Linked DNA regions of Homo sapiens: region 2 is linked to region 1. The links are contacts of gene promoters, found by promoter capture Hi-C in blood cells and fetal thymus (Javierre and others, 2016). All regions are on one chromosome and are shown on one strand. The core of a region is centred on a gene start or on the middle of the fragment in contact, and the rest is flanking DNA. Distances in the headings are between cores, read along the strand shown.

Region 1 (4,944 bases), core at 193-2,692:
CAGCCACAGAAGAGATGACACTGTGGTGAAATTTTCCGAGAGAAAGGAGAAGAGCTAGTGTCACAGAGCAGGAGGGTGTTTTAAGAAGAAGAGGCAGATTTGAAAGGTGTCAGGAAACTTCAAATGAGGTGAGTTCCCAGTAAAGGCCATTAGGTTTGGGATTTAGGACTTTGATGGCCGCCCTAGAGAGACCAATGGATGATGAGTTCACGGTCCTCTTTAACTCAAAGCCCGGTATACATTCCCATTTTATTAAATACTATGGATATTGTAATTTCTTACCTCCTGGAATGCAAAAATTGGGCTGCTTTTGTTTTTTTCACACTCAGAAATATTGCTATCAGATGAAAAAGTGTAGTTGCCAGTTTCTTCCCATATTCTCCGATAAACATATTGCGTTGTCAGTGGACCGGTCAAAGTCATAGCAAATGCACTAAGGAAAATGGCAGGTTCTACAAATAAAATCTTCATATTGCCTGGGTAGGTAGCTGTATTCTATAAAAAGTGAAAACGGAGAAAGATCATCTGTCTCATCCCAGAGGCTAGATATTCAAAGATGGGTAAGTTTGAGCAATTTTGTGGAGTAAATGTTTAAACAAGCAAACTAGAGAACAGAAAAGGCAGTAAGCACTTTCTCAGAGAATAACTTTTACTTTGGAGTAGAGTACTCTGTAACAACCTGAGGCTGCCATGCTTTCCATTTTTATGAGTAGGACATTGTAGGACTCAAGCCGCCTTTGAGTCTTTGAAATCATAAACTGTCACCCATCTTGGTTAGCCAATGATCACAGTACAGTTCCCACACTGTATATTGCCAACTGATTTTTCGTAAGTTCAACAATGAGGTTCCTTTTGGGAAGCGACAGTTGCACAATTGTTATTGTTATTTTGCTGCGTATTAAAAACGGACAGGGAGGGGGCGTTTTAAAAAGCAGCTCCCAATCGAAAGGGCCTTATTTTTAACTCACCCCACGATTACAGTCTTCCTGCCAGGCTGGGTACAGGTCGGGCCGTGCCAGGGGCTGTCGCCTCGGATGCCCTGCGCTCGTGCGCGCCCGGGTTCAAGGGCAGCCTCTGGACTGGGGCAACAGAGGACGCGCCGGGGACAGTAACCTCGGACTACGCGGCCGGCGCTGGGGTGGGGAGAGTACTTTCCCGTCGAACTCGACCAAATTACGCTTGTCGGGGAGTCTCAAGCGTATTGTAAAGCAAACCTCGGCAAGCGCACTTCCGCGTCCCGAGTGACACCTGCAGGGTTCTCCGGCAGCCCTCGGCTTCCCCGCGGCCCTGCGGACCTCGGCCTCAGCGCGGCGCGGCGGGGCGCGGAGCAGCTGCTCCTTCTGCGCAGTGGACAATCGGCCAATCGGCGCCTCCGTCGGTCGGTCAGCGGCCCTGCCAGCGCTAGGCGATGACTCGGCCGCAGCCAGCTGAGCATCGCTGTCCGCCGAGGAGGCGGGGTCGGCTGCCGCGGCGCTGTCACTGTTCTACCCGGCTCTCCTGCGATTGGGCCCAGCGGTCGGTGCCCCAGCGGCGATTGGTCCACCCGGACGTCACTCTCCCCTGGAGAGTGGCTAGTGGATCGTGCACCCACCCTCGGAGGCCCGGAGTGGATCCCGCGCGACCGAGCAGCCACTCAGCACCGCTGTTGAGTGGTGGGCCGCGCCGCAGGCTCAACAGCTCTGGAGTTGCAAAGCATTTCTGAATCCGAATATCCTTTCTCATAGAAACACATAAAACAACAGTTGGAAAAGTAACATGTTTGGGCTGTAGCCCCCAGCAGGATCCCGGTCGGCCCGCAGAAGAGGGGAATGGGCGCAGGTGGAGGGCATAGGAAAGAGAGTGCTCAATGCAGAGTTAGCGGAGGGTTGGAATGTGGTCGCTGGCTTTTCCTGGGGAGGGGAGGGGGGACTTGGGCAAATCGTTAAATTTTCATGAACCTCCATGTCTTTATCTGCCACGTGGGGATGATAAGTCTTACAGGGTTGTCTAATTAAACACTCAGCATGTATACACAACACAGCCCCTGGACATAGGAGGAGTTGTCAGTGCTCTCCAACACACCCACCAGGAACAACTTGTAGTAAAAGAATTGAGCTACTACTTCTTGAAGCCAGGAGAAATGCATGCATGAGGAACCGTGGGGGCATCTCAGTAAGAAGGTGTTAGAATTTACTATGGGCTTGCGTTATGTGATTTTGGGAAGAGTTCAAGAAAGCAAGGCCTTACTCTGGATTGGTTGCTGTCAGGAAATGGCAGTAATTCTATGATTGGGTATCTTAATAAGTCTTATTTAGGAGTCAAGACTAGACAGAGGCTAAAGCCATGAATGATAAAGAAGCAACAGTCACACATATTTGTCATTTTTGTGGTTTAGACAGTGCCTAAATTTTGTCCGTGTTCAGACAAAATTATGACGTGGTCTTGTTTTTGTCTTGATCATGGTTACAGAATGCTCTTGTCTGACTTTGGTGTTCCGTGAAATTGTTTTCATTCGACAGAACACCATGGTCCAGAAAAGTTCTTAGCAACACCAAGGCCCAGCTGATAGTTCCAGCACCTGGATGTCAGAGCTGCTTTCTCTTCCTCAGCACTCCTTAAATGACAGTTGTGTCACTGAATGCAGAGTTAAACGTCTTAGGTTTGAGTCCTAACTGATACTTAGTAGCTGGTAACCTTGGACTTGCCACTTAATCTTACTTCCCAGCTTCTTCAAATCAGCATTTATGAAGCACTTGTTATGAGTTTCAAACAATGGAGCATGGATATTGGAAAGAAGATAAACAAACATGAGTAAGATACAGTTTGCAAGGAAGACATAATATTTTAAGTTGCAGTACTTTGTACTAAGTACTATATTATTCTAAACGGCACTTAGAAGATGTCCTTTTTTTTTTTTTTTTTTTTTGAGGTGGAGTCTCGCTCTGTCACCCAGGCCGGAGTGCAGTTGCAGGATCTTGGCTCACTGCAACCTCCGCCTCCCGGATTCAAGCAATGATCCTGCCTCAGCCTCCTGAGTAGCTGGGGTTACAAGTGTGCGCCACCATGGCCGGCTAATTTTTGTATTTTTAGTAGAGACAGGGTTTCACCATGTTGACCAGGATGATCTTGAACTCCTGACCTCAGGGGACCTGCCCACCTCAGCCTCCCAAAGTGCTGGGATTACAGGCATGCGCCACCGTGCCCTGCTGAAAATGTCCTTTCTTATGGGGCAAAAATAATTAATGTCCAATATACTTCCACGCTTTGCATTCCTACTCTTCCACACGAAGAAGAAAGCCAGGTCTTCTTAATGAGTTCTGCTGCTGATCGCTATGGTGACAACAGTCATTTTTTTTTTGTATTTTTTCAAAGAGAATTTTAATGTGAAAAATTAGCAGAGTTTCTGCCTTCACAATTAGAGTTTAACATGAGTCTTCCAGTGTTTTAAAAAGAACTGTAATATACGTAAAGCAAAATATTTTGGCATCATCTAGTGAAAACAGACAATGTGGTATTTTTTCAGCCATCTCATATAGTTAGGCCCTGAGTTATAATTTGAGATAAGTGATTCCTAAACAGAATGTGCTTTACAGAATGTGACCAATTATATTACTCCCAAGGACCTTGTTTCAGATTATATTAAAACCAGAGTTCACTGATCTCACATTTTAAAAAGAAAAAAAGTTTGTTAACTGTTTTAATCAACATAAGTAGTAACAAACATCCCTAATTGGATTCTAGAGAGGAAGCAGGGAGGGCCAGGCATGTGGCTCATGCCTGTAATCCCAGCACTTTGGGAGGCCGAGGCGGGTGGATCACGAGGTCAGGAGTTCAAGACCAGCCTAGCCAAAAGAGTGAAACCCTGTCTCTACTAAAAATACAAAAATTAGCCAGGCGTGGTGGCAGGTGCCTGTAATCCCAACTACTCAGGAGGCTGATGTAGACAATTGCTTAAACCCGGGAGGCGGAGGATGCAGTGAGCTGAGATCGCGCCACTGCACTCCAGCCTGGGCGACAGAGCGAGACTCCATCTCAAAAAAAAAAAAAAAAAAAAAGAGAGAGAGAGGAAGCAGGGAACAACTGAGCCAAAACAAAATTATCCCCTAAGGACTTGACTTTGGACTTCCACATAAATGTGACCTTGAAGACCTAGATACATATTTATCAGGTAAATATGTAATTATTTCGTAATTAGATCAAGATACATGAGCAGTTTTTGGCATTAATAATTACATTATTTTTAGGAAATCTTATCAAATATGGTCCCGGATCTCTTAATTTCCTATATTCAGTGATTTTAGTTAAAATTCCAAAGGATATTTTTTTTCTACAACATCTCCATTTCTGAGTATCATCATACCAAAAGAATTAGTATTCTCTCATTCAAGGCTTTAGATGTTCAATTATTCCCTGCCCTTCCATCCTCACCCACACAATAATTGCCCAGATAAATAATAACCTGAGGTTTCCAAGTATCTCACCGGGATTTTTATTCTTTATACCTTGCAGGACTAGTCCAAGATTTGAATACCCTGAACTTATTTGGCAAGAGCTAAGAGTACTCTTAAAATTACTACCTGGAAATTATATTATTTAGAATCTGCCAATTACCTAGATCCTCCTGAACAATTGTTTTACTAATGAACTTCCTGAAAGCACATGTATAAGTATCATAGCTATTAGAAAATGTTTCAAATGCTATTATATTTGATAGAACCATTCAGTTAACAAAATACTAAATCATAAACTGGCTTTTAGAATTACACACTCAAAAAAAACAGTACACTACAAGAGTTGTTTTGTACACTTCATTCTCTTCGAATGCCTTTGTGGCTTACAGTGATGATCACATATATTGGTTCCTTGCAACCTTTTTCATTTTGATCTTCGTTTGTAATGGATAAGTGGGTTTTCAGGGGTGTGAATCATAGTTGTATAATTCACGATGGGAAAATATCCATCAAT
Region 2 (5,147 bases), core at 926-3,425, 1.5 Mb before region 1:
CTAGAAAGAGCTTCTGATTTGACATCCTTGGGATCAGAATCCCACTTACTAAGTGTGTGACCCTGGCAAATCCCTGTGTCTCACTGTCCTAATCTGATTACAGCATACATTTATTGTTTACCTGAATACTGTTTGTGTCCATGAGCAAGAATGTAAACACCAAGAAAACAGGGGCTGCCCTGACCAATACTGCATCCCCAGTACTCAGCGTCGCCTCTAGCACTTAGTGGCTGCTAAGTGTATACTTGATATACAGTACTTGAGTGAATGAACAGTCGGTAAAGAGTATCACACCACTCCTGAAATCTAGTCTTTGACAATGAACTATGACCCATACAATGTGTGTAGCTCAGCCATGTGGCAAAATTGTCACTGTAAAAGACCTAATTATCGCATTCCTTTTGAAATTGACTAAGATAATAATTGGCGTATCTAAAAATAATTAGCCCAAACAATTCTCCAAAATCATTTTAATATAGTCCATTTAATACAAATGCTTTCCTAAAATGTAAACTGTGAGAAAGAACAATCATCCAGTTGGGAAATGGAGTCTTCAATGATTCATCCTTCAATATGATTTCTTTAATACTGTCGATTTTATGTCCACCTGATTTCAGTCATTTTTTGTACTGTTCCTCAGCGTGTAGTAGAGAATCTGCTTTTTAAGGCATCTTTCAGATCTGATTCACCACTCCTTAAAGAAAAATATATACAATGTACCACCCTTAGATGGAAAATTTCTTGGGGATCTCCTATATGAAATCAGTTGCATAAATAGGGCCAGTGAGGCATGAAACACAAGATTTCAGAAGTCTCTAATAACAACCACTAGGCCCACGTTGCAAAGAACAACTTTTTTCGGTGATGACTCATAAATTATGATCCCTACATATAAGCTCATGAGGAACTAATGAAACGAATTTGTCTCATCATGTGGAAAACTGTGGTCCTTCTGGCCACGCACAAAACACCAAGTTTTAAACGCGCCCACGTTTTGCTTAATTCGGGACTTCCAGCGGGCATTAGCACTTTTCCCTTACAGTCTATTTAAACGCCCTAGGAAAACAAATACCATCGCCTTGGCAGGCGGTCCCCGCACAGACAGACCTAGCTCCAGCCACATACAGATGTGTCTGGTGGGCTGAAGTAAACAAATGACAGGAAAGCTAATGCTGCTTTTCAAGATTAACGTGCATTCCCAGAGACAAGACTGCCACCTGGACACACGGCTGGAAACGGGAGAGCTCGTGCCTCTCAGAGGAGAAAATGGAGAGAATTTCAACAGTACTTATTTAAAGTTTCCACCTTCACACACGCCCCTTTCCCCCAGCGCGGGGTCGGGGACTCGGCCCAGCCAGCGGCGCGAGGAAATCTGCACTTGACTTCCGTCCTCTCCCAGGCGGGAATGAGCGCTGCCCGCCCCGGCCGAGACCCTTCCTTCCTGCCCGCCGACCCCCACCCCTCCCGGGGACCCCTCCCGCTCGGCGCGCGACCAGAAGGAAATGGAGCCCGCGCGGCTCCGCGCCCCCTCCCCGACGACCCCGGCCCGGGGCCGCGCTCTGGCTCGCGCGCGCCCACCCCTCACCCCGGCACAGGCCGGGCGCGCCTCGGCCCTCGTCCCCGCGTCCCGAGCGGACCCCAGCAGTTCAGCCGGGGACTCCCGGAGGCCGGTGCCCGCCCGACGCCGCGTCTGGCACGGTCGCCCACTCACCGCTACCCTCGCGCCGCCCTGGCCCACCAGGCGGCGCCCCCTCCCCAGCCGCCTGGGCCGCTCACCCCCGCGCTCCCCGCCTGCGCGCCGTCCAACCGCCCCCGCCCGGGCCGCCCGGGCCGCCCAGCCCGCCCGCCCGCCCCGGCGCTAGGCCCCGCGAGCGGCCACTGGGAGAGGCGGGTCCAGCGCCGCCCGCCCGCCCGAGAGGTCCCGGCAGCCCCGGCCGCCCGCTCGCCGCCACCTACCATGGTACAGATGGAGGCGAATTTGGAGACTGTCATTAGGATTTCCATCCGGCCAGCGCCATCTTCCACCCAATCACAGCGGCGGCGGCGGGCGGGGGAGGAGGGGAGCCGGGCCGCCCGCTCGCACCGCAGCCCGCGGGCGGACCCCGAGCCGCCGCGGACCCAACCACCGAGCCCGCTGGGCCGCCGCTGCCGTCGTCGCCGCCGGCGCTCAGGCACTCCCGGCCTCGGGCCCCAGCCCCCGCCTGCCGGCCGCCGGCCCGCCCCCGGCTCCGCCCCGGCGCAGGGCGCAGCCGCTGCCTCCGGGCCCGCGCCTGCACGCGAAGCCGCCCTCCGCCCACCCCGCCCAGCGCACAGGGGAGCGGGCTCCGCCGAGGCCCTAATGCCCGGCCTGCCAGGCAGCGGCGCGGCCAGGCGGCGCAGCCCCGCCCACCCCTCGGCAACCCCTCCGCGGCCCTTGTGCGCGAGCCGGGGAACTCCGGTCCGTCCCCACCCCGCGCGCGGCAGAGGGCAGGACCGAAGGCGGGCGCCACCTCCTGCCCGCGTCCCTGCGGTCCTAGAGCCGGGGACCCAGAGACCCCCGCGTAGGAAGGGGTGCGGCGGGGAGGCGCGGGGGTGGCGGCGGCGATCTGGGAGAACCCTGGAGGGGACCAGCTGCGACACCCACCGCGGGCGAGGGGACGGCGAGCCCCCGCTGCCTAAACAGAAAACGGAGGCGATGATCTGGGTAACTACGGGCGGAGTGGGAGGAAACCTGCTCTGCACAGTTAAGATAACCCGGGTATGCGTCCCAAGCACTTGGTTTGTTTCTTTTTACGTATATTGGATGAATCACCGGAGTCAAACACAACTTAGAAAAAGACAAAATAATTAAACAAAAATGAAGAGGCAAAGAACAAATTACACATGTTTAACTCTTTGAATTAAGAAGAAAGATAAGTAATGGGGGAAGGAGAGGAGCGAAACCTGTTGGCCTGTTGGCGATAAATTTATAATAGGCTTCTAAATATCTGCACATTGAGCTGCAAAATAGGGAGGATCTCAAGCCAGCAGTGATGATGATATTACCAGAGACAGGAAGCCCGCAAGCAAGAAAAATGCCCTGTGAGAAATCCTTAGGCAGTGCTGGCTACTGGCATGGGTAGTTCCTCTTTCTCCTTTTATAAAATTCATATTTGCACCCTGTTCTTCATGCCTGGCAGCTCAGCTTTATTTTTTCCTATTTGAGAAAGTAGTTCAAGTGAGTAGAATAACTTCATAAATTATTATGTTAGAAAGCTTGTGATATTTTCTGATTGAACTCGTGATGGGGTACTTTTCTGGGTTCCCCTAATTCAGTGGGGTTGAGGATCTGAATTCAGGCAGAGCTGTAAAATCAGAAATGCCTCACCTCAAGGGTTCAAAGCACTCAAAAACAAAAAGCATTCAAACAAAATTTAAGTGAAAAATAGACTTCTGGTACATGAATACTGTTTCCATAGTGATTCCATTATAAGCTTGCTTGGGGGGGGAATGCAGATTGAATATAGCCAAGCCCCATGGTAGCCGGACTGGATCTCCAAGCGCCTGCCTCCATGGAAGCCAAGAGCCCTGATACCCCAGCCAGGGGCTTTCCTCTCTATACTTGCAAGCATCACCCACCTGAATTCTTTCTTGCTCTTTTCTACCCCCTGTTTGGACAAGGGTTTCTACATCTTAGACCTCTAGGGCCTACCTGGGCCTTGTCCGAGTGTCACCATGCCCATCTGTGTGCCCGTCCTGATAAATAGCTGTGGTCATCCTGTCCTTCCCACTTGCTGTTCTATTCCAGCAAACAGGTCTGATGTGCCAGAATTTTAGACCTGCCTCCATCCCGCTAACCACCCATATGCCTCCTTGTCCATTAATCCGAACATGTCACAGGAACAAAAGCCACTGGCTTTACATATAAGTTTATATAAGAACAAGGCCTTTCTAAAATGAATTTCTAGGCTGAGTATGGTGGCTCACACCTGTAATTCCAGCACTTTGGGAGGCCGAGGCAGGTGGATCACTTGAGGTCAGGAGTTGGAGACCAGCCTGGCCAACGTGGTGAAATCCCGTCTCTACTAAAATACAAAAATTAGCCAGGCGTAGCAGTGTACGCCTGTAATCCCAGCTACTCAGGAGGCTGAGGCATAAGAATAGATTGGATCCTGGAGGTGGAGATTGCAGTGAACTGGGATTGTGCCATTGCACCCCAGCCTGGGTGACAGAGTGAGACTCTCTCAAAAATAAATAAATAAATAAATTTCTAGGCTGGGCACAGTGGATCAGGCCTGTAATCCCAGCACTTTGGGAGGCTGAGGCAGGAGGATGGCTTCCAACTTCCTTGAGACCAGGGAGTTCAAGACCAGCCTGGGCAACATAGTGAGACCTTGTCTCTACTAAAAATAAAAATAAATACGTGGTGCATGGTGGCGCATACCTATAGTCCCAGCTACTTGTGAGGCGAAGTAAGAGGATAACTTAAGCCCGAGATATCCAGGTTGCAGTGAGCCATGATTGAACCACTGCACTGTAGCCTGAGCGACAGACTGAAACAGTATCTCAAAAATACAGCACAGTGGCTCTCGCCTGTTGTAATCCCAGCACTTTGGGAGGCCAAGGCGGGCGGATCACTTGAGGTCAGGAGTTTGAGACCAACCTGGCCAACATGGAGAAAGCCCATCTCTACTAAAACTACAAAAATTAGTTGGGCATGGTGGCGAGCACCTGTAATCCAAGCTACTAGGGAGGCTGAGGCAGGAGAGTCGCATGAACCTGGGAAAAACCAGTGAGCCGAGATCATGCTACTGCACTCCAGCTTGGGCGACAGAGTAAGATTCCGTCTCAAAAATTAAATTAAATTAAATTTTAAAAAGTAAAATGGATTTCTGATAGAATTATCTGGAGTCATGTCTAGTTGATGTTGGAGCCATCTAAATTCACAGGTAAAGTCATGAAACCTAATCACAGAGCCTCACAATGCCTTGTCTCCACAGCCTATGGTCGATTGGAGAGACACAAACATAAAAGAGACATTCTTGAATCTATGTGCTAGGTGTTGTACTGAGTGTTCTTTACCATATGTAATGCAGTTGGAGAATAAGTTTGGCTGAAACTCCACACTTTTGCACCCTGAGCTTGGAAAGGGTAATCTGGCTTTAGAACACAGCTTTACACAGCTGTGT

What was found. Contacts are between HindIII fragments. The CHiCAGO score rates a contact against its expected background, and 5 or more counts as called.
Region 2: the fragment with the promoter of USP12 here is called in contact with the fragment with the promoter of SLC46A3 in region 1 in 1 of 17 cell types (monocytes); the score reaches 6.3 in monocytes.

The regions. Positions count from the first base shown.
Region 1 is chr13:28,717,528-28,722,471 of GRCh38, forward strand. It overlaps SLC46A3 (solute carrier family 46 member 3), which reads right to left and starts at 1,443. Exons shown (of 6, transcript NM_181785.4): 1 at 969-1,443; 2 at 283-495. The coding sequence starts at 471. It also overlaps the pseudogene CYP51A1P2. The HindIII fragment of the contact is 12,183 bases long and covers 1-4,944 here.
Region 2 is chr13:27,169,636-27,174,782 of GRCh38, forward strand. It overlaps USP12 (ubiquitin specific peptidase 12), which reads right to left and starts at 2,176. Exons shown (of 9, transcript NM_182488.4): 1 at 1,957-2,176. The coding sequence starts at 2,004. USP12-DT (USP12 divergent transcript) reads left to right here and starts at 2,624. Exons shown (of 2, transcript NR_046548.1): 1 at 2,624-2,737. RefSeq lists enhancers at 1,153-1,262, 2,763-2,952 and silencers at 1,503-1,552, 1,583-1,652, 1,723-1,812, 1,873-1,922, 2,063-2,702. The HindIII fragment of the contact is 5,306 bases long and covers 1-3,232 here.